Regions from separate parts of the Homo sapiens genome. Here all the other regions are linked to region 1. The links are contacts of gene promoters, found by promoter capture Hi-C in blood cells and fetal thymus (Javierre and others, 2016). All regions are on one chromosome and are shown on one strand. The core of a region is centred on a gene start or on the middle of the fragment in contact, and the rest is flanking DNA. Distances in the headings are between cores, read along the strand shown. Region 1 holds the start of LCE3A (late cornified envelope 3A). Region 2 has its middle 26 kb from the start of PGLYRP3. Region 3 has its middle 15 kb from the start of PRR9. Region 4 has its middle 4.9 kb from the start of LELP1. Region 5 has its middle 2.9 kb from the start of SPRR2G. Region 6 has its middle 2.9 kb from the start of PRR9.

What was found. The method cuts DNA at HindIII sites, captures the fragments that hold promoters and counts their contacts. A CHiCAGO score of 5 or more calls a contact.
Region 2: a contact is called between a fragment that was not itself captured here and the fragment with the promoter of LCE3A in region 1, in 1 of 17 cell types (M2 macrophages). The highest score is 5.1, in M2 macrophages.
Region 3: a fragment that was not itself captured here is called in contact with the fragment with the promoter of LCE3A in region 1 in 4 of 17 cell types (M2 macrophages, M0 macrophages, erythroblasts and 1 more); the score reaches 6.3 in M2 macrophages.
Region 4: a contact is called between a fragment that was not itself captured here and the fragment with the promoter of LCE3A in region 1, in 4 of 17 cell types (M0 macrophages, M1 macrophages, M2 macrophages and 1 more). The highest score is 10.2, in M0 macrophages.
Region 5: a fragment that was not itself captured here is called in contact with the fragment with the promoter of LCE3A in region 1 in 2 of 17 cell types (M2 macrophages and M1 macrophages); the score reaches 8.1 in M2 macrophages.
Region 6: a contact is called between a fragment that was not itself captured here and the fragment with the promoter of LCE3A in region 1, in 4 of 17 cell types (M2 macrophages, M0 macrophages, megakaryocytes and 1 more). The highest score is 9.7, in M2 macrophages.

The regions. Positions count from the first base shown.
Region 1 is chr1:152,621,730-152,626,513 of GRCh38, forward strand. LCE3A (late cornified envelope 3A) reads right to left here and starts at 1,374. Exons shown (of 1, transcript NM_178431.1): 1 at 1,105-1,374. The coding sequence starts at 1,374. The coding sequence ends at 1,105. The HindIII fragment of the contact is 6,916 bases long and covers 1-4,784 here.
Region 2 is chr1:153,285,164-153,289,505 of GRCh38, forward strand. No RefSeq gene overlaps it. Among named protein-coding and RNA genes, the nearest start is that of PGLYRP3, 26 kb to the right of the region's middle. The HindIII fragment of the contact is 2,378 bases long and covers 760-3,137 here.
Region 3 is chr1:153,230,457-153,235,080 of GRCh38, forward strand. No RefSeq gene overlaps it. Among named protein-coding and RNA genes, the nearest start is that of PRR9, 15 kb to the left of the region's middle. The HindIII fragment of the contact is 3,185 bases long and covers 136-3,320 here.
Region 4 is chr1:153,196,238-153,200,788 of GRCh38, forward strand. It overlaps a transcript of SPRR2G not described here. Among named protein-coding and RNA genes, the nearest start is that of LELP1, 4.9 kb to the right of the region's middle. The HindIII fragment of the contact is 1,093 bases long and covers 1,018-2,110 here.
Region 5 is chr1:153,151,521-153,155,973 of GRCh38, forward strand. It overlaps a transcript of SPRR2G not described here. Among named protein-coding and RNA genes, the nearest start is that of SPRR2G, 2.9 kb to the left of the region's middle. The HindIII fragment of the contact is 830 bases long and covers 2,529-3,358 here.
Region 6 is chr1:153,212,460-153,216,926 of GRCh38, forward strand. No RefSeq gene overlaps it. Among named protein-coding and RNA genes, the nearest start is that of PRR9, 2.9 kb to the right of the region's middle. The HindIII fragment of the contact is 3,829 bases long and covers 380-4,208 here.

The DNA.
Region 1 (4,784 bases), core at 124-2,623:
TCTAAATCAAAGTAGGAGGAGAAAATACCTTGATCAGCAAACATTCTGAGCCAATTCATCCCTGCCCAAGGCCCTGTTTCCCTGCTGCCCTTAGGTTAGCAAAAACGTGAGCTTAGGGTCATAGGGTCAGGGTCTGAGAAAGACGGTGAGGGACAAGGGGAGACAGATAGGTAGATAGAGATAGATAGATAGATAGATAGATAGATAGATAGATAGATAGATAGATAGATAGAAAACAATGATTTACTTTTTCATTTCTTCCAGGGATCACTGAGCTGAGATGTCCTGAAAGGAAAAACTAACAGCACTGTCAGCCCCCTCCCAAGTGCCTAACCCTCAAGTATCCTTTTGGTTGTTTGCTGCCAGTCTATTTCTGTTGTGGTTCCAGCTCTGCAGGAAGCTGCTACCGGAGTCACCATGGGCCCACAGATCCCACTGACATGCCCAACAGAGCATTCTGGAGGCTCCAGTTGCTGCCACAGCTCTGGGGGCTGCTGTGGTCCTGGGTCATGAAGACTACAGAGTATCAGAGTTGGAGGAACCAGAGGACCAAGGACCTGCTCCCATCTGGAGCTTCTCTTCTTCTCTGCCATCTAGGGCTGAGCTACCAAAGTGTTTTCGGAAGGATCTGAACGGGCCCAGTAAGCTCATTCCCTTTGTTTTCCAGAGCTCTGTGTTTATTTCCAACTCATGCTTCTGTCCTTGACCTTGTGAAAGACTGCTCACCTCATTCCCACACTAATATACAACCCCCCTAAAAGGGTTTTGTGAGTTGAGGGGTGTATGACCCACTTGTGTCTGTTCCTAAGATAGGCCTATGTACCCAATGTGGGGCAGCCCCTGTAAGGCAAAGACGGGAACGCACTGGACAGAGCTTGCAACGAGAAAGCACAGCTTTATTCTTCACAGCACAGGGATATTAAAGAAGGAGGGAAAACACTAAGACCAGCAGGATAAATCCCCTGGGGGAGTACTTGAAACTCATCAAGGAACATCTCAGTAGGAAAGAGGAGACAGGAGCAAAGAAGCACCAGGCTAGGGCTGGTTCCAGTCATTTTGGCACTTTCTTTTCTCAAATATTTTTACTTAATCTCGTGGCTCAGGTCAGCAGCAGCCCGCAGAACTGTGGCCACAGCTGGAGCTCCCGCCTTGCTGACCACTTCCCCTGTCACAGGAGTTGGAGCTCTGGCAACGGCAACGGTGAGACCTGCGGCATCTGTGGTGACTCAGGCAGCAGCTGCGCTCGGAGCTGGGCCCACAGCCCCCAGAGCTTGGGGCACAGCTGGAGGAAGCTGGAGGCAGACACTGTGCTGGGCTCTTTGCAGGGCACTTGGGCGGAGGCTGGCACTGCTGCTGGTTCTGCTGGCAGGACATCTAGGCAGGAGGTCAGGGAGCCTGGGCAAAATAAAAGCAAAGCAAAATACGTGTCAATGCAGGTTTCAGGCCAGGGCCTCCTCATGCTTTGGTTTAATTGTGGATCCCTTCCCCTAAACTCAGTCTGCCCTCCAGCTAAGACCTGGGGAAGGGGAATGCAAACGGATCTGAAGTTAAACCGGCCTGATACTGCCCCTTCCTCCGGCCCTCTCCCCTGCCTGGGAGGCAGCTGACACTCCTGGGTGGGCCTCTGGGGCTCCTGCGCACGCCCTGCGGGGCCTGTCACACCTCCGGACCCGATGCGAACAGCTCCCCCTGCAGGCGTCCCGTGAACACAACGCCCATGACCCTCCAGGGTGGCGTCTCTCTGGACGCCTGTGAGCGCAGGGTGTGAGGAGGCAACGCATCTCTGCGCACATGAGGAAAAGGGGGTTCAGAGGTCGCAGCATCGCGGAGCCCCTGAAGTGGCTCGCAGACTTGTCTGTCTTCCTCACTATCCCGCCCATCTCCCATCCCAGTCCCAGCCGGCCACCCACCACAGCCTCTCTGCCGCCTCCACCGTGTCTGCCTCCTCCCCTCTCCTTGTTGAAGCACAGACGTGTTTGCGCAGCCCTTTCAGCCCAGGTCCTCTCGCCAGCTGGACGCTCACCTGGTTTGGTGGAGGCAGGAGAAGGTTCTTCCTGAGGTGATTGTGGACTGAGGAACCCAGGGCCTCAGCCCTTTTATCCTGGGTATTATGATGCACAGCCCAACTATGTGTCCTCCTTTGCTCCCCAAAGGGAGGGGAAGCACCACACACTCCCAAGGACCAGGCTTTCAGCATATTCTTAAGGCGCATATTTTGAGGAATGACAAAAGGGAAGCAGGAAATCTCGATGACGGTCCAATTATCCACCGTTCAGGCCCTCTGGCTGCTGTTCCACTTTTTTTTCTTCATTCAGCTCACATGCTCTGAAGCCAGGGTACGTCCTTTGTGGGGCCTGGTAATATGGGGACAAACAGAACACATTTCTCCCCTTGACTAGCTCACAGCTTTTCAGAAGGCCAGATGGACAACTGAGCAATTAAATCACATCCTATGTGCTAAGCGACGCAGCACAAGTGTGCACAAACATGGCAGGCTGGGGTCACTGCCTTTGGGTGTCAGTCCCCATTGCTTTGTGGATTCCTTTACATAGGTGATGGAATCAGCCCCTGTGTCCTGAGATGTTGGCTGCACTGAGCTCACTGGACCTGGGTTGAGTAAGGGGTGGAAGAATGGAGCTGGGGCCATGGCTTGAGAGGTAGTGTCTTCAGGGAATATCATGGCATCTTAAAGGTGGCATTGGGCACTGTGGGGGCAGAGGGGTAGAGTGGAGGGAGGTGCAGATGGTATAAAAATGTGACCTCCATCTGTGGGATCAACAGAAATCACACTTAATGGGAAAAAAGGGGCATCCGTTTTTGGCTGTCTGTGAAATGTGCAAGGCTGAATTTAATCCTATATATTATGTTAGTAATTCATTAAAATTTCTTTGAATTTGTTGATAATGATGAGGTTGATGGGGTTGTATGCATTTCACTTAATGAATACCTGTGATAATGCTTGAAGTTTGTATATGATGAATTCATAAAAATGGAATATTATTTACTATTTGGTTTTAGTTATATCAGTGATAAATTTATCAGTGAATTCATCTCTAATAATACAATACAATATGCCATAGCCTCTAAATAAAAACCACTGTAATGAATTTTAAAATAATCTTTATTATACTATATATTCTTCCAAGGAAAATAATCACAATTGAGACAATATTAAGTTTCTAATAATCATGAATTTAAATTATATTGTAATTTTAAGCAAAATGTTATTTTGATCAGAGTATATGAAAGCCTGAAGATGCTTGTTCTTTGGTACAAAATACACTGCTAGAGGATATTAGTTCCTTCTTCCCCTTTGCCTATCACTCCACTTTGAACAAACTGCAATACCATGCATTCTTTTAAGAGTTCTATGAGGTCAGGAGTTCAAGACCAGCCTGTTCAACACGGCAAAACCCCGTCTCTACTAAAAATACAAAAATTAGCTGGGTGTGGTGGTGGGCATCTGTAATCCTAGCTACTCGGGAGGCTGAGGCAGGAGAATCGCTTGAGCTGGGGAGGCAGAGGTTGCAATGAGCTGAGATCGCGCAACTGCACTCCAGCTTGGGTGACAGAGCAAGACTGTCTCAAAAAAAAAAAATAGTTCTGCAGAATTATGAATGGAAGAGTGGGAATTCCTGGTGGAAAGCTGGTGAAAGGCTAGGACAGGTGTGCCAGAAGCATGTTTTTAGGAACATGCTGAATGGGGTCCTCAAGGCTTTGTTAAGTTTTAGTGTCAGAGCTATGCTGGAAGTAACTTTGCCCTTATATCCTTAAGTACTCCTACTTCCTTCCCTCAGAGGATATAATAATAAAAAGAGACAATTGCAAAGGATGTGAATGGGCACTTTTGAAATGCCACACTGGGTGTTGTGAATGAGAAGAGCGTAAAGGAAACATAGATCTCTTCGCACTGCTGCACTGACTTTGCTGGTGGAATGGGTGTGAGAGAAGGACAGGAGGGGATCACCTTGAGGGAAGCATGCTGTTAGTGAAATCTGGGCCTCCTGCAGACTTAATCCTTGTCTGAACCAAATGCCTTTTCCAGACACAGCCCAAAAGGTTGAGGAGAATGGGCTGTGATACCTTCAGAGCAGGGAAAGTACTTATCTCTTGAATTGTTGGTTCACCTAATGCTCTTCTTCTGAGACTGCCAGGCCCAGATCAGCAGCAGTCCTACTGACCTGTGGCAGCAACGGAAGCTCCCACCACTGACCACTGCAATACCATGACCATAGGTAGTAACACTGGTGGGATCAGCTCAGGCATCTGAGCTGCTCCTAGAGCTGGAGCCATGGTGAGATGAGCCTGGAAGAGGACTTGGAGCTGGTCAAAGGTAGTCACTTTAGAACGCACTTGGTGAATTACTTAGGAGTGAAGCACTTGATAGGTGTTTGGTATGGCTGATGGCTTTATTGGCAGCTTATCTCAGCAGGATCTATTTAGCACCTATTCAGATGCATCAAATAATAATAAAAAATGTTTCCTTTTGAAATTAAAATCACATTTTGTAGACAATATATAGGTAAAATAAACAAGTTTCAGAAAGAAAATTTTTTACCCAGATTAATTTCTTTAAGATTTCTTTTTCTCTAGATAAGTATAGATAGGTAGCCATATACATGTATTCATAGATATACATGGCCCGGGCCAAGCTCTCGGCTACTTGCAGAAACTCAGCCAAGGGAGGTTGAATAGTGGCTGGGCTGAGAGTCACTTTGCCTTGGCCTTTAAGGCTATACAATTCCAGGGCCGGTTCCTTCTCTGTCTGGACGTCTCTTTATTCT
Region 2 (4,342 bases), core at 699-3,198, 660 kb after region 1:
GCGGAGCAACAGGAACTATCATTTGTTACTAGTGAATACAAAATGGTATAGCTCTTTGGGGAGATAGTTTGGAAGTTTTTTACAAAGTTAAACCTAGTCTTAGCACATGATCCAGTAATCATACTTCTAAGAATCTACCCAACTGATTTGAGAACTTAGGTCCACAAAAATGTGCAAGCAAATATTTATAACATTTGTGCCATTGACTAAAGGTGGTGCCATTTTCATCACATCATATCAAAGGGTACACACTATCACCATGACATCACTATTGGGTTGACCTTGATCATCTGGCAATGTAGCATTAGTCAGGTTTCTCCACTGTAAAGTTACTTTTATTCCCCCTTTGCACATGGCACTCTTTGGACGGAAGTCACATGTGCAATCCATACTTAAGGAGTGGGGAGTTACGTTCTACTTTCTTCAGGACAGAGGATCTACATAAATTATTTGCAATACTTTTTTCTCTTCTCTTCCATTTATTTATTTATTCAATTATTTGTTTATGTTGGTATGGAGTCATGGATGTTTATTTTATGCTCTAGGTTATAATCCAATACTAATTCATTTATGTTCTTGTTCAAATTGTTTGATTTTAGCTGTTAAGAACTCTTTCAGTTGGCTCTCATATTTTTTTATTTACCCCACCATTTTACTATTACTATTTTTGAGTAGTGCCTTACTTACTGGTACTATAAGAGGTTCCAAGCTTATATTGTATATTTCTTCCCAATCCTAGAGTCAGCCATTTCTCCAAGAAGCTTTGGTTTATTTCTTAGAGAATGGTACTAGAAACCAAGATCTGGCTACTAGGTGTGCTCATTGCTATCTCTGCACTCTTTCTCCCAAAATCCCATAACCCCATTCTCATCATGAGAAAAATTAGACAAATCCCAATTGAGGGACATTTTACAAAATGCCTGACCAGTAATCCTCAACATTGTCAAAGTCATCAAAAACAAAGGATGTCCCAGAAGCTGTCACAGCCAGGAGGAGCCTAAGAAGACATGATGACAAAATACCTGGTGACATCACTCAGGGAAAGCAAATGGAGAGGATCCTCATGATGGGGGAGGGAAAGGAGCCCTTAAGGAAAACAATGAAAAGACAAGAAGAAAGAAATCTGGAGGGTGTATTGCCACCAGAGCCACAGGAAATGAAAGGTTTCAAAAATATGTAAGAAAATAATCAGGTGTGTCAGATACAGTTAAGACTGTAAGAAGAGGAGTGAGTGACAACTGCCCCCTTGGACTTGGCTTTACGACGTCCTTAGGAAACCAAGTAAGAGCAATTTCAGTGGAGCAGCGCCAAGTGGGGGTAAGGGCATAAGTGTAGTGCAGAGTAAATGAGACGTGAGAAAGAGAATAATCTTTCTAGAGATGTGAGTGAGAAGAATAAAGAAGAGATTAGAAAGTAACTAGAGAGAGCAGTGGAGTTAAAACAGATTTATTTTTGTTGTTGTTTTGTCCAAATTGTTTCAGGATGAAAGAATCTTGAGTATCTTTATAAACTGTGAGCATGAAGAGAGAGAGTATGTGAAGATGCATTCAATATATTCATTCTACAAATATTTTTTTGATTCTTACTATGTACAAGAACTAGAAAACAAAACAGCTGAAAATCCCTACCCTCCACAGAGCTGACATTCTAGTTGGGGGAGATAAACAAGATAAATGGGTAAATACATTGTATGAAAGAGGGTGCAATAAAGCAAAGAAAGGAGACAGTGCTGGCAGGAAGGGGTGTTGCAGTTGTGGGTGGGGTGACCAGGAAAAGCCTCATTGAGAAAGTGGCACTTGAGTAAAAGCCTGAAGGATATGAGAGAGAGGGCTATGTGAGTATCTGAGGGAAAAGCACTGCAGGCAGAGGGAACAGCAAAGCTAAGACCCTGAGGCAGAAGCCTGCCTGGGATGGTCAAGGAACACCAAAGAGGCCAGTGAGGCTAGAGCAGTGAGAGAAAGAAGAGTAGAATGTGTGGTCAGAGACAAAATGAGAAGCTGGATCATGTAGGACCTTTTAGGTCTTGGTAACAACCTTGGCTCTTACTGCGAGTGACATGGGGAGCCATCAGAGGGTCTTGAGCTGAGGAAAGACAGGATCTGACATGGATTTTAACCAGATCTCTCTGTCTTCTGTGTTGAGAATAGACTTAAGGGCTGAAGGACGTCAGAATCAGAGGGACCGATTAAGAGGCTATTGCAGCACTTCAGGTAAAGGTGACTTGAACCAGAGTGGTAGCAAGAGAGGGGCTGAGAAGTGGCTGAAATAATATATTTTTAAGGCAGAGCCAGCCAGATGAGGAGAATGGGAGGAAAGAAGAAGTCAGTGGTGACCCAAGGTTTTTGTCATTTGGCTACAGATCATGAAGCTCCATGCAGGCTCCATAGCATGAATCAAGCATAAGAGTCCTTCCACATCTCACCCTTGGCTTACTATATGAACACCACACTGTTACCAACATGCCTGGTTCAGTATTAGGGTGGTGTGCCCAAAGTTCACTTGGAGAGCTAAGGGCAGGCTCAGGGTCAGTTGGCCACAATACCAGGCCTGAGAGTGGAAGTGCCATTTACTGAGGTGAGGAAGACTGTGGTAGGAGAGCTTTTGAGGCAAGATCAAGAGTTTGGCTTTGGGCATGAATTAGATGTTCTATGACACACACACATTGAGAGATAAATACATGGCAGAATTTGAACCTGTATTAAAGAAAAATGTGGTCGGGTGCAGTGGCTCACGCCTATAATTGCAGCACTTTGGGAGGCCGAGGTGGGCAGATCACCTGAGGTCAGGAGATAAGAGACCAGCCTGATCAACAATGTGAAACCCCATCTGTACTAAAAATACAAAAATTAGCCAGGCGTGGTGGTGGGCACCTGTAATCCCAGCTATTCAGGAGGCTGAGGCAGGAGAATCGCTTGAACCCGGGAGACGGAGGTTGCAGTGAGCTAAGATCGCACCACTGCACTCCAGCCTGGGAGACAGAGAGAGACTCTGTCTCAAAAAAAAAAAAAAAGTTTCCACTGTAAATATAAATTTAGGAGGTAAAAGTGATGAGTTTAAAAAGAGAGCTCAAGGAATGTGAACAGGATGGGATGGAAGGAAGGAGTGAAAAGTTGACCCTCTGAAGCTGATGTCAAGGAAGCTTTGGGAATGTGGTTGCAAGAACATTTGCAAGGTTGCAAGAAGTGGACAGAGATCCTGCCAGATGGCCTCAATTTTCTCTGCTGAGTGGTAGGGGGTTGGGAAGGAAGCTTGGGGAAAGAGGTAAAACGTGGGCATGAATATACATGAGGACAGTGCTAGCAGGAGACTAGACAGGTAGGAGACTAGTCCCAAGGCAGTGCTGGGGCCCCAGCCTGGAGGCAGGGGAGGCTTAGTTCCTCTGACCTCCAACTCTTGGGACAGACAGCCTCACCACTCTGGCCCCTGATGTGCCAAGAGCAGTTTTGTGGCCAGACGTACCAGGATGCCAACCACCCCCACCCCCCACCCGTGTAGCAAGCAACTGTCCCAGCAGGTTTGTATCTCCAGCCATTCTCCCTCCCTTTCTGTGCCTGTACCTGCTGGGTGCCCTGCCTCCTCATTAGGCAGGTCTGGGCAATGGCTCAGCTAAGGGCGCTCCCACTCCACACCCACCAGGGCTGGCCCAGCCCCAGCCCTGACCATGGAGCCAGCTCACCTGCACCACCTACTGGCGAGGCAGGGCAGGACTCCAGCGCCCTTCTGCTGCTATTCCCTAAACCCCGCTTCCACACCAACAGCCGCTGGGACTTAGGGCCCACACTAGGACTCTTAGACTCCAAAGCATTTCAGACCTGGAAAAGGCCCAGGTCACCAGTTGCAACCCCAGTTTTACAAAAGAAGATACTGAAGCTATTCGTTCATTCCACAAATATTTATGGGGCTACCATTACGTGCTGGTGTATCTGGCATCACTCAGGAGCTAGGGACGCACTGGGGAGGTCCTGCCCTCATAAATGGAACAGGCCAGTGAGGAAGACAGATATAAAATAAATAGCCACAGAATTAAAGATAAGCTTTAAATGGCGCAACGTTGGAAAGGGAAAAGTTTATGAATGAATTTATGGCTGGCAGAAGGAGGGCTCCTCTCTGAAGACATGACCTTAAGACTGGAAACTGAAGGTTGAATATAAATTGGCCAGAAAAAGAAATGAAGGTGGGAGAAACATTCTAGACAGAGGAAACAGTATGTGAGAAGGCCCTGATGTCCACAGCCTATGAACAGAAGGCCCTGTCAACAATGGGGCTCCGGAGCTCTGGGGCTCCGACTCACCTCATGAGGAGAAGAGCCCGTGAGGCACATATCTGTTGTCTGGTGGGTCCA
Region 3 (4,624 bases), core at 478-2,977, 610 kb after region 1:
AGGCATAAACACACACCTGCCTGAGCATGTATCCCATCAAACCTCAGACAACATGTATATACTGTTCAGATGTTTTTCAAAATGCATCGGGAAGACCCCGAAGGGGTCTCAGTAGAGGCTTTTTATTTGATTCAAAGCTTCAAAAGATTATTCCATCTGCAAAATGTATAAAGGCTGGATGTTGGAGGAAGCATGAAATAGGGAGAGGAAGGACCTGCTACTAGAGTTATGGCTAAAGGTGGTAGATGGCAGCAGTGGAGACAAAGACAAGAGGGTGACGCTAAGTGTTTTGGAGGAATAACTAACAGGAGTAGCAGGGGGACTCAATGTGTGGGGTAAAGGAGGAGAAAGAAGGCAGAAATACTCCCAAGTTTATGGCTTAGGCCACTAGGTGGATGCAGAGAGGTGAGGACTAGGAGATATGTGGGTACATGTCTGAAGCTCAGAGATATCTGGGCCAAAAATGTACATATTTGAGAGCTGTCATCACATAGAAGGTATTTAAAGATATGTGAGTGGCTGAGATCACCCAAGGAGAAGAAGAGAGGGCCCTACCGAGCTGAGGACTCCACAAGATCTCAAGGTTGGACAGCGCAGAAGGAGCCTGTACAGCCAGCTGACAAAGAGCGGTCAGTGAAGGAAGAGAAACTAGGAGGGTGGAGACTGGAAAGACAAGAGAAGACAGGTGTCCAAGAAAGGAAGGAAAATCAATGGAGTCAACCAATACTAACTGGTCAAGAAATGCAGAGTGGCTGGTGACCTTGATGAGGACAGCCTGAGTGGGGACACAGAGGCCAGAACAGAACAGAGTGGACTGAGGAGCAAAGGGAGGTACCAAGCAGGGCAGTCTGTGGGGTTCCTGGATGCAGCTGGATTGGTTTGCTGCTCAAAGAAAATCCCAGCTCAGACCTACTCTAGGACAGAAGAGGCCTTCATGAAAGATGCCTGGCTGCAGGTGTCCAGGTGTGGGAAGGTGAGTGGGAGGAGGCAGGACTGAGCAGCACTTCCCCAAACCAGGAGGGAAGCCAACACCGAAGCCCAGGCTTCCATTTATAGAGTTTCCACAAGTGGACCCGGACTACTCCACCCTGTTCACAAAGCAACCTCGCCTGAACCTTTGACACCAGAGGCTGAGTCAGGCCCAGATGGCAAACACACTTTAAGCCCTAATCAGACTTTGCATGGGTTTACTCAGCCCATGCCTGCTTCTCTGCCCCTACCATGTCCTCCTAGAAGAGGGAGCACCTCTTCCCCGTCACCCCCCAGAGACTCACCTGCATGAGGTTCACACACTGCACTCTCTCACACCATATACCACACACACACACGCACACACATACATACACAAAGTCAGTGTGATGATTCCAGATGCTGGAACCATGCCTCCCCTTGCCCTTTGCCAAATGCCTGCCATGCTGGCCACAGAGGCAGAAGGAAAATGACAATTCTGCCCTTTTGTAATGCATGCTACTATTTTTGTCCATCACAGGTTCCTCAATTTGAGGCCTAAGTGTTCCTAGACTTCATCCGGTGTTGGAGGAAGCCCTTGCTGCCAGGGAAGCCCCAGTGTGAAGACAGGACATAGCAAACCTCAGGGAGACCCCGGGATGAGGAAGAAGACAGCCCCACCCTCTGGAGCCTGCAGAGGGAATGCAGTGGAGAGACACAGTCCTGGCCTTAAGGTTATCCCCAGTTTGAGGAGAAAGAAAAGGTCCCTGGCCTCAGAAGATCCCCAGTGCTAATGTCCCCACAAAGTGTGAGGGTCTCCATCGTACGCATCTCTGTCCTCACCCTCTCCGGACTTGGATTTTTTAAAGATATAGTACAAAATACAAAATGAAAATCACATCCAACTTACTCACCTTTAAAGAGCCCTGATCAAAATATGACAAGTGTGTTTCTCCAGTCATATGTTGAGTACTCACCTGAAGTCTAACCCAGGCTGGAGTTAAAACATCGACTCTGACACTCCAGTCTTTATATCATCATATCTACCACCAACACATCACCCACGTTTACCTTGACCCAGTTTCAAATATGAGAATTTTAGATTCAGAGGCAGAGCAGGGGTCAAGAACTGGCGTAGAGCCAGGCTCCTCAGAATGTGGCCTGTCCCTGTTCACACGGCCCAGGCAAAGCCTCACCAGGGAACCATGCTCCAGCTCCCTGCCCCACTCCAATCCTGCAGACCCCAGGTGACATTCCTGAGGCCACACAGCCTGAGTAATGACACAGCTTAGTGGAGCTGACTCATGGAAAGAGTTGCCCCATGTGCATTTGGAGGACAAGGACAGTTGTGCAAGGTGTTTGTGACAGGCCATGAGGAGGGGCAGGACGTGAGGCAGCAAGAAGTACCAGTTGGTAATTGTCATTACTTCTACTAGAATCTCCAGGTGACAAATCTACCTCAGTGCCCATAGCCCTAGATGTTGCAAAGCAAAGCAGCACTTCCACCCACGGCCTCAAAGAGCATTAAAGAGTCACTCTGTTTCAGCTCACATGAAATCAAACCATCAGTCCATCTGACTGCCCTCTGGATCGCAGCTCTTGGCTAGGTACAAGAGCTGGGGATATGAGGTCTTTTCAGCCCCCTTATCTGTGAAAGAATGGGATTGCACTAGATGCTCTTTATGGCTTCTTCCACCTATGACATCCAGTGGTTCTAAGCAGGTCTCAACAGGGACCCTGAAGTATGTCATACATATGTGACACAAGAGGGGAACCCACTCAGAGCACCCAAGTTCAAGGTCCCAAGAAAGGAAAGCCCAGTCTCCAGCTCCATACTACAGGCTAGTGGCAAATCCCTGGCACAAAGAATGTTGGCAGTCAAATACAAATGTGAGGATCGTTCATCAAACTGGCATGCTGTGTCCATTCATCTATTCATTCATTTGATAAGCATTTAATGGGAGCCTTCTATGCCTGCTATGGAGCCAGCTACTAGATATGCAGAAAATAATAGACAAAGCCACTCCCCTCAAGGGCCTCAAAGTCAACTGGCAGAGGCAGAGGCAGAAAGAGGAAGAAAAAAAAAGCAACATGCTGAAAGAAATACAATGTTGGAGAAATGTCCAGCTTAAAAGGGGCCAGGAGAGGGATTGCCAAGGTGAGCGAGGAATCAAATTCACTGAAGACATAGTTGAGCTGTTAACACTTAAAAGAAACTGGACTTGGAACCCCCACCATCAACTTGGACTCTAATTCATGACATATATGACCTTTGTACTCTCTGTTTCCTGACTTATAAAATGAAAGTACTGAAGTATGTGCCCACAAAGCACAGAGTTCTGAATACTAAAAAAATTAATATAGTAGCTCCAAGCTTAAGCATGGACTCAAAAACAAAATATAATTCAATCTCTACAGGTCAAAATCAGCCATGGGCTCAAGCACTAAGTAAGCTCAATCCTTAATGAGTGGCAACATTCAAATCTCAGTACAACTGCAACATTTTAAGCATTTAAGTGTTAGTAAATGTCTTAGAATTTCCTTGATAATTATACTAATAATATAATAACACTGTTAGATTAAATGGATTTGTGCCTTCCTGCCATGCGTAGTTGAAAGACAGATGATGTAGCTCTATATCATGATTCAAAGTCTCAAGGGACTAGGTCCTAGAACCTAATTAGTCAGAGAGTATGGGTCAACAATAATTGATAATTCATGAAAATGGCTACCTTGGGTAATTTCCTCCAAAATTCAATTGACTCAATAATTCCATGGAGCAAACCTGTACATTGTCCTGGAAAGAGTGGCAATAGAGATTGTAATGGGAAACCATTTGCAGCTAATTCAAAACAAAGGAATCCTGAGAGAAACCCTCAGCTCATGATCAGGGGAGCCTTGTACAGAATTTTCTGAAACCAAGCAAATGATTTGCTTTCAGGACAAAATAATCTGTTTGTGCTGTGAAGCAGGAGATTGGGGATTCAGCCAAGGACCTCTGTAGGGGACACAGCTGACCCTAAGCTGCTTCCTACAGAAAGCCCAACCCTACCTGTGGGTGGAGCAAAGGCCTGGCCCCATTCAGAGGCAGGTAGCTGTCCATCTAGAAGAGTGCACTGGTTTGACTTCTCAATTTTCATACTAGATTATCAACCCTGCTACCTATTCATTTGATTTCCAAAGCATATGTAAATACATTCAACAGCATCTTCAAGAGCTTCAGGCATGTATCTGAGAGTGTAACTCTTAATCCTCATGGGTCCAGAGCTCATCAGAAGGCTCAACTGAAAGAATAATGACTACCTTAACTAACAGTGTTGATTATTTATGATGTGCCGTCTCATCTAATTCATACAACAGCTCTCTTCAGCAGGTACAATCATCTCCTCCATCGTGAGATTAGGACACCACCCTGAAGAGATGTCAGCGTCAGAGAATTAGAGAAGAGGTGTAGACAGGATTTGAACCCAGCAGTTTGACTCTAAGCCTTTACTCCTAAACACTGGGAATGGTAGTCTAAGGAAGTCACTATCTAGATACTAATCCTTTCCTCTGAGTTCTATCCATGAGACAAGTTAGACAACTGTAAGACTAAATAGTCAACTGCATTAACCTAGTTGCTCAGAAAATGGTCTTCCTTGGACTGAAACTTCATGTGTTGACCTGAGATTTTATG
Region 4 (4,551 bases), core at 314-2,813, 570 kb after region 1:
GGTAACCACTGTTACAGCCTTTGATTTAATGAATTTGACTATTTTTAGATACTTGATGTAAGTGGAATGATGCAGTATTTGTCTTTCTGTATTTGACTTATTTCACTGCATAATGTCCTCAAGGGCCATTTATGTTGTTGAATAAGGCAGAATTTCTTTCCTTTTTAAGGCTGGATAGTATTCTATCATGTGTATATACCACATTTTCTTCATTCATCTGTTGATGGACATTTAGGTTATTTTCACATCTTAGCTAAAGTTTGATTAGATAAAGCTGCTTATTCCAACTGCTACTGTTCCAGCCCATGCTGCCTCCTGTGGCAAAAGAAGATCATTAGGGAAACACAGTGCTGCCTCCCACTTTATTAAAAAATATGAAGACCTTGTAAAGCTGGTTAAGAAATTGACAAGAACTACTTCAAATCATCTGAAAATGTCCCCCAAATTTCCTGACTTTGTGATCCCACACTCAGTGAAGGAAATGGGTCTCTGCTTTTCACTGCCTTCCTTACCTGTGCAAAGAGATCTCGCTTTGTGCCCTGAGCCTGCAGAAGTCACTCTCAACCTGCTGAGGGATTTTCTCTTCATCTCTGCTCTCTCCATTAAGACATCTGCCCCAGTGGGCCCCCAGTTTATTGCCCTTGCTTGTAGCTGGGAAGGTGATGGTGTCACAGGAGGAAAAAGGAAACAGAAGCCTGGTGGGCACCTTAGGAGGAGCCCTCAGGTAAAATGTGGACTCCACAGAGGAGTCCGGTAGAGCTTCACTCAAGAGAATGACTCCCATTTACCCACAGGATCCTTCCCTACCGTGCCTGGCCCAGCTACCTCCCTGCCAAGTCCACTCCATCCTGTGTCCTCCCCAGTTCTCCTGAAGTGGGTCTCACCAGGCAGAGAATGTGTGTGTGTGTGTGTGTGTGTGTGTGTGTGTGTGTGTGTGTGTGTATGTTGGAGGATGAAGAGGAGGTGCAGGGCAAGATAAACCCTAGCTGCAGGGAAGGGGAGATGGACACTCGCTGAAGCTTGAGTCCATCTCTGCTTGGGAGCCTGGATCAGATGGCGGCTGTATCCTGGACAAATCCAACAAGATCTGGGATTTTCAGCCTACACAGCCCAGCGGTACCTGCCTCCTGGAATCTCTGGGCCTCATACAGATATATTCATGTTGGAAGCTGACCCTGAGAAACAGATCTCCATCTCCATAAAGTTGGATCTCCCTCCTCTGACAGACAGTTTATTTGATTCTTATCTCCCCTGCTGAACTTTGTCTTGTATATCCATTCATTTATTTCCCAAATATTCACTGAGCATCTATTATATGTCAGGCCCTGGCCCAGCACTAAAGATGCAAAGAATAATAAGAAAGCCCTTTCCTGGATTAGGGCACTGTATGAGACAGAAGACAGCATTGCCCCCCGGCAGAACAGGTGGGGAGTCAATCCATGGGGAGCACATCAGGCATGTTCAGAGATGGTATCTCTTAACTGCAGCAGGGTGGGGGTCCAGAGCAGTCCACATGGAAGGTGGAATTTTCAAATTGTATATAGAAGATAAAAAATAAATATCAATAAGGCAAAAAGGAGGGGGATACTCCAGTTAGAGAGAAAAGCAATTGCGAAACCATTGAAATATTATTCCATCTCCTTATTGACAAGAAGCATTAACTATTGCCTGGCCAACATGTGCCAAGACACACACTGGACACTGCAGAAACAGAGATTTTAAAAAGTAATTGGTTCCTGATCTCTACACTACATCATGTGAGAGAGTAGATCAGGAAGTAAATAACTACAAAATATGGGGATAAAAATTTCAGAATGAGCTTGGCTAAGGCAACTAACTGCCTGGGAAGGTGAGAGAAATCATGCCCAAGGAGAATTTCCTATGAGTTCAAGGTTGAGGAGGAGAGAGGGAGGACTCGGCTGGCAGAGCAAAAACTCGGAGTTTAAAAAAATAAAAAAAGTCTAGCATATTTTGGAAACTGCAAGTAGCTTTACCCCAGAATCTACGGTAAAAGTAGAAGACCGAGCTGAAAGTAGACACCAGATTAGTAAGAGTTTTGTTGACCCAACCAAGAGCCTTGGGCCTCATCTTAAATTCAATAGTAAAATTAAGCTTTTGTTTTATAAAATTCACTTCGGCAATGCTGTGGGGGTTGAATTAGTGGTGAGACTCTTTGGAGACAGGGAGACCTGTGATGATGATGCCACAATAAAGGCAGCAACCATGGCTGTGAGAGAATGGGGGACCAACTTGAGAGAAATGTGCCTGCAGCTCCCAAACACACCCTGGCTTAGAAGCCTGTGGCTCAGGAGGTAGAATCTGCAGATCCTGATAGCACATTTGGTGTGAGGTTGAGTAGGAAGCAAGAGTCTGGGATGATCCCAGGTTTCTTGTTAAGTCTTGGTGGACAGGATGCTATTCACAGAGTCGGAGCGCATAAGAGGAGCAAGAGGGGCATGTTAGGAAAAATGTGGAAGGTGTTGAACTCTGATTTTGTAAAATCAGCTTGAGGTACCAAAGTACATCCAATGGATGTTAGTATTGGGACCTAAAGCTCAGGGAAGAGGGTGGGCTTTGGGATTCTCTATGCAGAGCTGGTACTTTCAGCAATGGTGGATAATAATATCAGCAGCAAGGGTGAAAAATGAAGGTGCAGGTGATGTTGAAAGGATTCAACAGAGGAGAAAGGGCTCGGGAAGGAGAGTAGATGAGGCTGTAAGTGGGAGTCTACCCATGTCACAGAGGACCAAAAGGGAAGAGGGTTAAAATATAGGACACAACTGTAACAATTACTGCAGTAAAGTCAAATAGGATAAACCCTGAACCATGTCCATGAGGATTTCGTAGAACATTCTTCCCCCTTTATATAATGAATGAGCAAAAATACACAAATATCAAGAAAAACTTACGCAATGGTGATTGATAAACAGTGAAAGGGGAGGATGTATATCTGGTTCCCATGGGCCAGATATGAGCCATAAGGGAGGGAAAACTGGCTGTCCAGGTGGTCTAAAATCCTGTCCAAGAGGTGAAGATGAGGAATACCAGCCAAGAGAAGCTGTAGGAGAGCTTGCCAATGCCTAGGCGCTACAGGAGCCATGCACAGCTAGACAAAGCAGACATGCCTGTTATACTAAAGAACTGTGGCCAACACCCAGCCAGCAGGGAGAGGAGAGTCTGTGAAGGACACATTCAAGTTCTCCACGGGAGAAAGGTCAGCCATAAGCACCTGCCAAGCCCAGAAAGCTCCTATGCCAGTTCACAAAGTTTTCAGGTCTTTCTTTCTCATTCCTTTGCAGCCCCTACCCAAATGGACAAGAGGCAGCTGGGTGAGCAAGGGAAGAAAATTAAAAACTTCTAGTAGCTAATAGAGAAGATACTCTTCTTTCCTGTGCAGCCTTCCTTCCTGCAGTAGTACCAAGTAGGAAAGAGAAGGAAATCCAACATTCAAGGAAAGACCTTCTGATTACTGAAATAAGATTTTTTTTATGTAAATAGAAGTTATTTTTATATAAATAGAAGTAAGAAATCATGCGATTTCTTAGCATGATTCTAAAAGTCAAGGGCATCTGCTAGAGATTTCATTCCAAGAGAAAGGGAAGAGCCAGCCCCACAGAGAGGGTTTTAAGAGGCATCAAGAGAAGAAATAGAGTTGCTTTCTGACCATCATGCAGGTTCTGCTTGTTCAACAAGAATTACACAGAGAGATAGAAAAAGGCATGGAAAAAAATAGAAATACTTTGCCAAAAAAGCAGCGAGGGAGATTCTAATGGAGTTAAAATTGCTGATACATAGCATGTCCCTGGGCTGATACAATATGCAGACATACAGGGCCTTCAGACACACACAGAGAGGAACCACTGAATGGCCCAGTGACTTTTTTGGCCTAAATTAAGTTACTATCTTTTATCAATAACATTGATATCAACCCTTCCTACTCAAAAGTGAAATCATCCGTTAATAGTTAACATTAAAATATCTAATCTTACTGTGAACGCCACCAGGAGCTTTGGCTGGAAGGCAGGGGAAAAAAATGCTATGGAGAAGGGGTCTGAGGAAAATATTGAGTTGGAGAAGTGGGATTATAGGGCCAACACCAGAAAATGAGAGAATGAGACAGAAATGAAGACACAGAGAGAGAGGTTCAGCAAACCAATGAAGACACCTGGCCAGCGTTGACAAAAAACGATAGCTAATATGAATAACAAACATTTTTGGGGGGTACTTCATACAGGGCATCCCCAGTCTTTACAATTCTATGAGTCTAGTGAGGCACTGTAATGGATGAGGGTGTAGGTTTTGCACTTGCAAATATGACTGGCATGTTATGAGCAATCGACATAAGTTATATATTATCTTAAGATGATGGTGACATTATATCATTTTATAGATGAAGGAATCGAGACCTGGATGGCTAAGTAAATTACTAAGAGTTGTTCAGCAAGTAAAGGATGAAAGCAGGATTTTTTTTTTTTTTTTTGAGACGGAGTCTCACTCTATTGCCCAGGCTGGAGTGCAATGGCGTGATCTCTGCTCACTGCAACCTTTGCC
Region 5 (4,453 bases), core at 1,694-4,193, 530 kb after region 1:
ATGTTGGGGCCCCTTCTTAAAGCTTCACATTTGCAGATTTACACACTAACCTCATCTCTGTGGCCCTTGTAACTATGAGTGACTTGTGGTCTACTAGAAATCCAAACTCATCTTCTCCCATTTTCTTCCAAACTGCCTTAATGTATGTGCTGCATCCATTTTGAAGCTTTTCTCCTACATGCTAATTCAATTTACTCCTTCACAATTTCTCTCTTTTGAAATGACATTTAGTAGGATTTCAGGCTTTCTTTGCACATTCGAGGAGTGAAGTTCTGTAAAGCTATTTATCCTGCTGTTTACTTCATGGATGTTTTTACCTAAATAAGTAAAGTATAGCTGGCACAGATCCCACGGATAATTTCTTAGTATAGCTTATTTAACCATATTAACACTTCAGCTAGTATTACTCACTGTCCCAACTTGGAAAAAACTTGAGTACCTTGGTTATGCATACATCTACAGCCACCACTACTGTGTGGAACTAAATATTTCCTAACCTCCTTGAAACACAGTTTACACAGCTGTAAAACAGAAATAAAAAATACACCTACCACAAAAGTCTCCTACAAAAACTCAAAGAGTGGCCTAAAATTATGCACATTACATAGTGGGTCTTCTAAGAAATATAAACTCTAAAATGTAGAAGAAATAAGAATAATAACTAATCATAACTAACCAATAATTTCAAACATGTCAAAAACAGATAATAAAGAATGGCATTGTTTAGAGTGAGGCCTATCTAGTGAAGATCCTTTCCCTGCATCCCCCATTCTTCTAGCTGTAGTCACTACTAATTAGACGGCATGGGTACCATAGCACCTACAGGGTCGGCACCTTGTTTTCCTGAGAAAGCCCCTCTCAGGGAAGATTTTTGCCTTGTGCTCTTTACCCAGAAGAATGCTGTGTTGTATCTGCAATGTTTCAAACTTGATTGGGTTGGTACAGTAGAGAAACAAAAAAAACTGAGGACCTAACATGGGAATTTGAAGAGGTAGGAACGTCTTTGAGTTGAGCCCTACTATTAAATTCTTTCTCAGCATCTCAGAGGAACAACATGAGGCTAGTTATCCCTCCCTAGTACTCTGAAACTAAACAATTTAGTCATCTAAGTTACTATCAGGAAACTGACACACTTCAGGGATGCCAGAAGGAACAGGGATGCTCCTGGGATGGGTGAGGCACTTTCACAGCGTTCTTTCTCATGTTGAAATCCTAGGAACCATAGCTGATGCATGCTGAAGAATTAGCTAAGGATTACGTGACTTAAAACAGTTCTATCAACACAATTTTAGACCTACTTTTCTTTGCCTCATGAATTACTAATAGATTCCAAAGTTATTTTTACCAATAAATTATTTGGTTTATCATTTATGCTTGATAAACTGAAGGAGGATTGGGCTTTTCAGAAAAGAATGCTTAATGAGGTTTGCCAGCTTCACAAAGGACAGTTTTTTTATAGAGAGAGAAAATAGCTAAAGGACAGATGATCCTCATTTTTCACAAATAATGGGCACTTGAAGCACTCTGTGCAAATTAAACCTCTGAAACTCACATAGTATCTACATGAGGGTTTGCTGGAGTTTACTTATAAACTAGTAACCGTGGTTATCTCAGGAGAATAGTTAAGTATCTAGGGAATAGGAGTGGGGGAGAGACTAACTTTTCACTGCATGACCATTTTCTTCTCTTTTGAATTTTGGTATCATGTATATTTTTTGCTTATTCAAAGTGTTTAAATATTTAAATGTTCAAAGATATTTTAAAATTGAAATAAATAAATCTGTGAGTAAATACTATGTTAGCAAACTGGCACTGTATAAACACAATGATTGAGTTAAGTCCTAATTAGGTGTGTAAATTTGAGCAATTTTCTTAACATTTCTGCAATTTTCAGTTTCTTCATTGAGAAATGGTAATAATAATACTTCTCTGACGGACATTTTTGTAAGGTGCAAATAAAATAAATAGTAAGCCTAGTAAAACAACCGTGTAAAGCTGGGAATTATGAGGCTGAATTACCTGGTCCCAAAGTTCCTGATTTGCCTAAAGATTTTGAAAAGAAGGACAAAGCTATTTTATGGGAGTCCCAGAAATGAAGAAACGAAGGAAGGTAGAGAGGGTAGAAGACAGGCGAGTGGAAAGAAGAGGAAAGGGGAAAGAGAGAGAGGATGACATTTCCCAAGGGCCATTTGATTTTACTTGATTTAACATTTATAGCCTAGTTCTTTAAGCTCCCAATAAAATTATTTCTATTTTAATAAATAAAGATATGCTGCTACTACATAATATGCCTTTAAGTTTTTGAGAATATAGAATTTAAAAATAATAGAATTAGAAATGAACAGAGATGGCAAGAGTGAGTGTCCTTGCTTTGCTCCTGATCTTAGAGGAAAAGCTTTTAATTTTTCACCCTCGAATATATTAGCTGTGGGTTACTCACATATGGCCTTTATTATGTTGAGATACATTTCTTCTATACCTAATTCGTTGAGTGTTTTAATCATGAAAAGATGTTGTATTTTGTGGAAAGCTTTATCTGCCTCTATTTAGATTATCATACAATTTGTATCCTTTATTCTGTTTATGTAGTGTATCACATTTATTGATTTGCCTACACTGAACCATCTTTTTTTTTTTTTAGAAAAGAAAGAAATTTATTGAACCATCCATCCTTGCATCTCAGGGATAAATCCCACTTGATCATGTTGCATTATTCTTTTAATGGACTACTAGGTATGCTAGTATTTTGTTGAATCTTTTTGCTTCTATATTCATCAGGGATGTTGGCCTGTAATTTTTTTATAATGTTCTTATCTGGCTTTGGTATCAGGGTAATGCCATCCTCATACAATGAATTTGGAAGTGGTCTCTCCTCAATTTTTGGAAAAGTTTAATAATAATTTATTAATACATTAGTTATTTAAATGTTTGGTAGAGTTTACTACTGTAGCCATGTGGTCCTGGATTTTTCTTTGATCACAGTATTTATATTGCTGATTTAATCTCCTTACTCGTTATTGGTCTGTCCAGATTTTCTATTTCTTCATGATTCAGTCTCAGTAGGTTGCATGTTTCTAGTAATTTATCAATTTCTTCTAGGTTATCCAATTTATTGCTATATAGTTGTTCATAAGCAGTCTCTTAGGATCTTTTTTATATCCATGGCATCAGTTTTCATATCTCCTCTTTCATATTTGATTTTATTAATTTGAATCTTCTCTCCTTTTTTCTTTATTAGTCTAGCTAGAGGTTTGTCAAATGAGTCATCTACAACTGCTGTCTCTTCTGTCCCACATCTCACTAACCCCTCAACCCATGGCAGTCTGGATTTAGCCCACCATCTACTGAAATTATTCCAAGCTTTCTGTCAGATAAACTGAGTCATTCTCCGTTTTTATCTTCCTAGACTTCTCTGCTACATGTCACAGTGCCAATCATTCCATCTTTCTCTAGAGTCTCTACTTACTGGTTTTCATAATATCCACTTAATATTCTCCTACTCCTGTGCTTAATCTTTCTCCTCCTTGATCTGAACCTCTTCTTCTAAATGCCAAATGGAGTCCTCTGGTGCTCATTCCATGGATCTTACCATCCTATGCATTCTCTAGTTACAATATCAATGATTCCTATGGTTTCAGTCATCACAAATCTACTAACTCACTCATCTACATTTGCACTCCAGAACTCACTTCAAACTTAAATATCCCCTTGCCCTCTAGATATCTCTGTCCAAATATCCTCAAGTACCAACAAGCTGATCATCTTTCCCACAAACCACTTGAACCTCCAGTATTCTCTATCCTGTACACCAATAATCACCCAGCTACTTGAGTTACCTTGACATTTTCGCCTCTACTACATGCTACTTATCTAAACTCCTCATTCTGACAGTTCAACAGCATAAGTATCTCTGGAATCCATCTCTCTCCTTCTATGCTGACTGCCATGCCCTAGTTCAGAGCCTCCTCATCTCTTGCTCGATTATTACCATAGCTTCCTAATATAGCTGTCTTCCTCTATCTTGTTTGATTTAAATCCATCTTTCCATTGCCATAAGAGTGATACATTAAAAAGTAAAATCTGACTACATCACTTGCATGCTTAAAATACTTTAAGTTCTAGGTCCATTACATAGCCCTTCCTTCGCCTCTAGCCTCATTCCTTATTACTCCACTTTTTGAACTGTGTGCTGTCATGTATCAAACTCTGTAATTTTGCTGACATACCAGTTTTTTCTATCCTCAGTGAATTTATTTACTAACCTGTAATATGCCATATTATTATTGTTTTACCGGGTTAATGTCTACACAATTCTCTAAAAGCCATCACTTCAATGAAAAGCCTTCCTGGATCCCTCCTATTAGGGCAGGTGACCCTACCTAAGAGTCCCATAAAACACTCTGAGCTTTGCATTAAGTGTTAAGTGCAACCCATCTGCATTAAGTGGATTCCC
Region 6 (4,467 bases), core at 1,044-3,543, 590 kb after region 1:
GAATTCGCAAGCTGCCCAGGGGCACCCGCTCTGCAGGAAACCAAATTCTGCACCATTCAGCTCTATCAGAGACATTGCCCTGTAATATGCAGATGAATGGGTCAGAGGAGTCTGAGGACTTTTAAGATCTGAACAGAGGAGATAGTTATTTGATGGGAATGGGAGAAAAAAAAACTGTCTTGCACACACCTGAGACTCTTCTGCTGATCCTGTCTAATTATGCCCTGGCTCCCAATAATGACAGCTCCAAAAGTCTAAAATCTTAAATCTCAGATGTCATTAAATCAGATTAACTCCAATCTTGCTGGAGGGCTGGGGATGATCACAGAAACAACTTAGTCACCTTATCTTAAGATTTGGGGTGAGACAATTTTTCCAAAGCTTTCTAATCCACAACCCCAGATACTGGGCCACCAAGATTGATTTTTGAGGACTCAGGCCCCAAATACTCCCACTCCCCACCTAGGAAAAGACAGGTCACCTAAGGTCAATCAGCCACTGGGTGAGCCACTGCCGCATGCAGAAGACAGAAGACTGGGTCTTCCTATGGGTACATTACAACCTGACCAAGGAAAAAGTGCCCACACACGTGTCCACACACTACAAAGTTACACAGTTACCCAGGCTACCCATTCGTGATCACATTTACAGTATCACAGAATGTCAGAGATGTGATGGACCTGACTGAAAGTCTAACTTTCCTATTTTAAAGATGATGAGGCCAGGCCACTTACTGAGCTGAGGAAGACTGTGGTAGGAGGAGTTTTTGAGGCAAGATCAGGAGTTTGGCTTTGGGCATGTATTAGATGTTCTATGACACACACACGTGGAGAGATAAATACATGGCAGAATTTGAACCTGTTTTAAAGAAAAATGTGCAGTGTCTCACGCCTGTAATCCCAGCACTTTGGGAGGCCAAGGGGGTGGATCACAAGATCAAGAGATCGAGACCAGCCTGAACAACATGGTGAAACACCGTCTCTACTAAAAACACAAAAATTACCTGGGTGTGGTGGCATGTGCCTGTAGTCTCAGCTACTTGGGAGGCTAAGGCAGGAGAATCGCTTGAACCTGGGAGGCAGAGGTTGCACTGCCCCGAGATCACGTGCCACTGCACACCAGCCTGGCCGACAGAGCAAGACTCCATCTCAAAAAAAAAAAAAAAAATTCAAGTCAAAGACCAAGTATTGGAGGGACAGAGCAAAGGACATAGAACAAGAAGAACCAGGGAAATCAAGGAAGGCTTCATGGAGGAGGTGAGTCCTGAACTGATTCAGATTGCACTAATATTCATAAGTAGCTTGATGGCCCTAAGTTTTGGAGCATACATTGTCTAATTTATTCCTCACAAGAAATCTGTGAAATAGTATTTTCCTTTCTCAACAAGAGGAAATTGAGATTATGAGAGGTTAAATCACTTATCCAATATTGCATATACTCTATGTGATAGTCAACCCCAGATGAATGGAATCCTGAGTTCTTTCTCCATATATCTCAGTCGCTCTTTTTTGTTGTTGTTTGTTTTGTTTTGCTTTGTTTTTTGAGATGGAGTCTCACTCTTTTTGCCCAGGCTGGAGTGCAATGGCACAACCTCAGCTCCCTGCAACCTCCACCTGCTGGGTTCAAGCGATTCTCCTGCCTCAGCCTCCCCATTAGCTAGGATTACAGGAGCCCGCCACCACGCCCGTCTAATTTTGTATTTTTAGTAGAGACGGGGTTTCACCATGTTGGCCAGGCTGGTCTCAAACTCCTGACCTCAAGTGATCCACCTGCCTCAGCCTCCCAAAGTGCTGGGATTATACGCGTGAGCCACCACGCCCAGCTCAGTGCCTCTTTATCAAAAGCTAGCCTTTGATTGAGGATGCTGACATGACAAGTAGGAATATATTTAAATGAGGGAATGGTAAATGAGATTTTATTCTTCATCTGAGGCTCCCTTCCTCAAGAGCTCCCAAGAGCCTCCAGCACTAGGAAGGTTATTAGGTTTCTACTGCTTCTGTGACAAGTTACCACAAATTTAGTGGCTTAAAACAACAAAAGTGAATCCTATGACAGTTCTGGAGCTCAGAGGCTGACAGAAGTCTCACCAGACTGAAATAGAGTGCCTGCAAAGCTGCACGTCTTTCCGGAGGTCCTACTGGAGAATCTGTTTCCAGACTGTAGAAGCCGCCCTCATTTCCGGCTCGTGGACTCCTTCCATATTCAAAATCAGCAATGGCCAGTTAAGTCTTTCTCAAATCACATCACTCTGACAGACTCTTCTTGCTTTTAAGAGCCGTACACTTATGTTGGCCCCACCTGGATAATCAAGGATAATCTCCCTATTTTAAAGTAGTCTGATTAGCAACTTTGATTTTATTCACTACTTTCAGTCTCTCTTGCCAAGTAACCTAACGTGTTTACAAATTCTAGCGATTAGGTGGCGAACATATCTAGGAGGCCATTATTCTGCCTACCACAGAAGGACTTTGGGGTCAATTTCAAGATTGTTCCACTGTCATGAATCAACTTGATGGCAGGCAGGGCATCCAGTGAGAGGAGTCAAACTCTGGGCTCTACCTAACTGGGCTCACCTCCCCTCCATGAGAACACGATCTAGTCTCTTGTTCTGCACATTTCTATTTAGTCTCCTTGTCCTGGGGCTTAACCAAAGTCACAGGCATACATGACATGAGCAAGGTCATCTCATGCATCCTGTCACAGGAAACTTCCAGAAATCCCAGCTAAGAAGGTCTCTTCCCGGATTCTCTTGCTCATTCCTTTCCTAAGCTGGCCTCCATCTATCCTTTCATTTCACTTGTATCTCTGTACTTCAACAGCCTCCCAACAAGGATTCTTTCCTAGAGGCCACCTGAAATGCCCTTGTCCACCGTCCTTGCCTGGGTAACTCATACTGTCCGGTAAGACAAAGCACAGACATCCCCTCCCCCAGGAGCCTTCCATGACCTTCCACCCAAAACCAAGGAAGAGGCCTTCTTCTGGAGCACAGGGGCTTACCTCTGGCCATATTCTCCATGGAACTGTGAGTCATTTTGGAAGGGAAATGCATCGACATCACATAGGGGCCATGAGTGACTGAAAGAACATATTATTAAAATCTGTGATGAATTCCTTGCTTTCTAGGACACAGGAGAGTTGCTTTGTCTCTTCAACAGCATTCTAAGAAAAGATGAAAAATACAAAGAGGAAGAGAATTGAAAGGAGGAGATGAAAAAGGAGGAGAAAAAGAAGGATGAGTCTCCCCACCCTACACCTACTCTCCCAGATGCCCCAAATGACTTTTTCTCTTCAGATATACACCTGGGTATTCCAAGTCCTTCCACTCTCAGGCCTCTGTCTACTGCCAGGACCTCAATGGGGCTCATGGTGATGTCACATTAACCTCTGAGAACCAGTCTCAAAGGTCAAAAATGCTTCCTGATCTCCCCAGCTTACCTTTTAAAAACTTTTCAGGTATCAAGCATCCAAAACCTATATAAACATTTGAGACATTTTTGATTTTAGCCAAATATTCTTCTTAGGAAATGACTTAAACCTACCCCTTCAAGTTAAGAGATTGAACATAACTTTTTTTTATACTTTAAGTTTTAGGGTACATGTGCACAACGTGCAGGTTAGTTACATATGTATACATGTGCCATGTTGGTGTGCTGCACCCAGTAACTCGTCATTTAACATTAGGTATATCTCCAAATGCTATCCCTCCCCTCTCCTCCCACCCCACAACAGGCCCCTGTGTGTGAGAACATAACTTTAAATTAAGGAGAAAGGAAGGGAACATCATCATATTTAAAGACCCTTGAATTTGGTCAACTTCAGCAAACACAGAACCACCATTTTAAGGAAATGGGGGCTTCTTTCAAAGTAAATCTTTTCCCATTTTCAATTAAATGAGATTTTCCTCTACTCCCAGCTCTCCCACATCCACCTTCTGTATTCCTTCATTAATACATTTACCCCATCAATAATCATTTGTCTTCCATCATCTTCCACTTACTATACCTATGGCATAGTACCTATCCTCTAGGAACTTATAACCCAGGAAAAAATAAGATCTATATATAAATATCTGGAAAGTCCTAATTTCAATAGTAAATGTCATATGAATAATATAAATAATAGATACCATGGGAGTGCATAAAGAGGTGGATTCATTTCTGGTTTAGAGTAATCAGGAAAGGCTCTCAGAGGGTGGTAGACATGAGTAAAGCTTTGCAGAATGCTTAGGATTCCCACAGGCACAGGGAGAACACACCAGGTAAAAACTAACAGCCCAAACTAGAAAGTAGAGGTAGAGAAAACTGGGTGTGTTTGCTTTGAAACTTTTCCTTTCATCCCCTGACTTTTATTGACTTGAGTTCTAAGAAAACGTTTTCCAGAAGGCAAAGAGACAAGTTAACTTTGTTCCAGCCTGTTCTCCTGGTCACTATGAAAACTCTGTGAGTAACTCCACTTTCATAAGGGTGT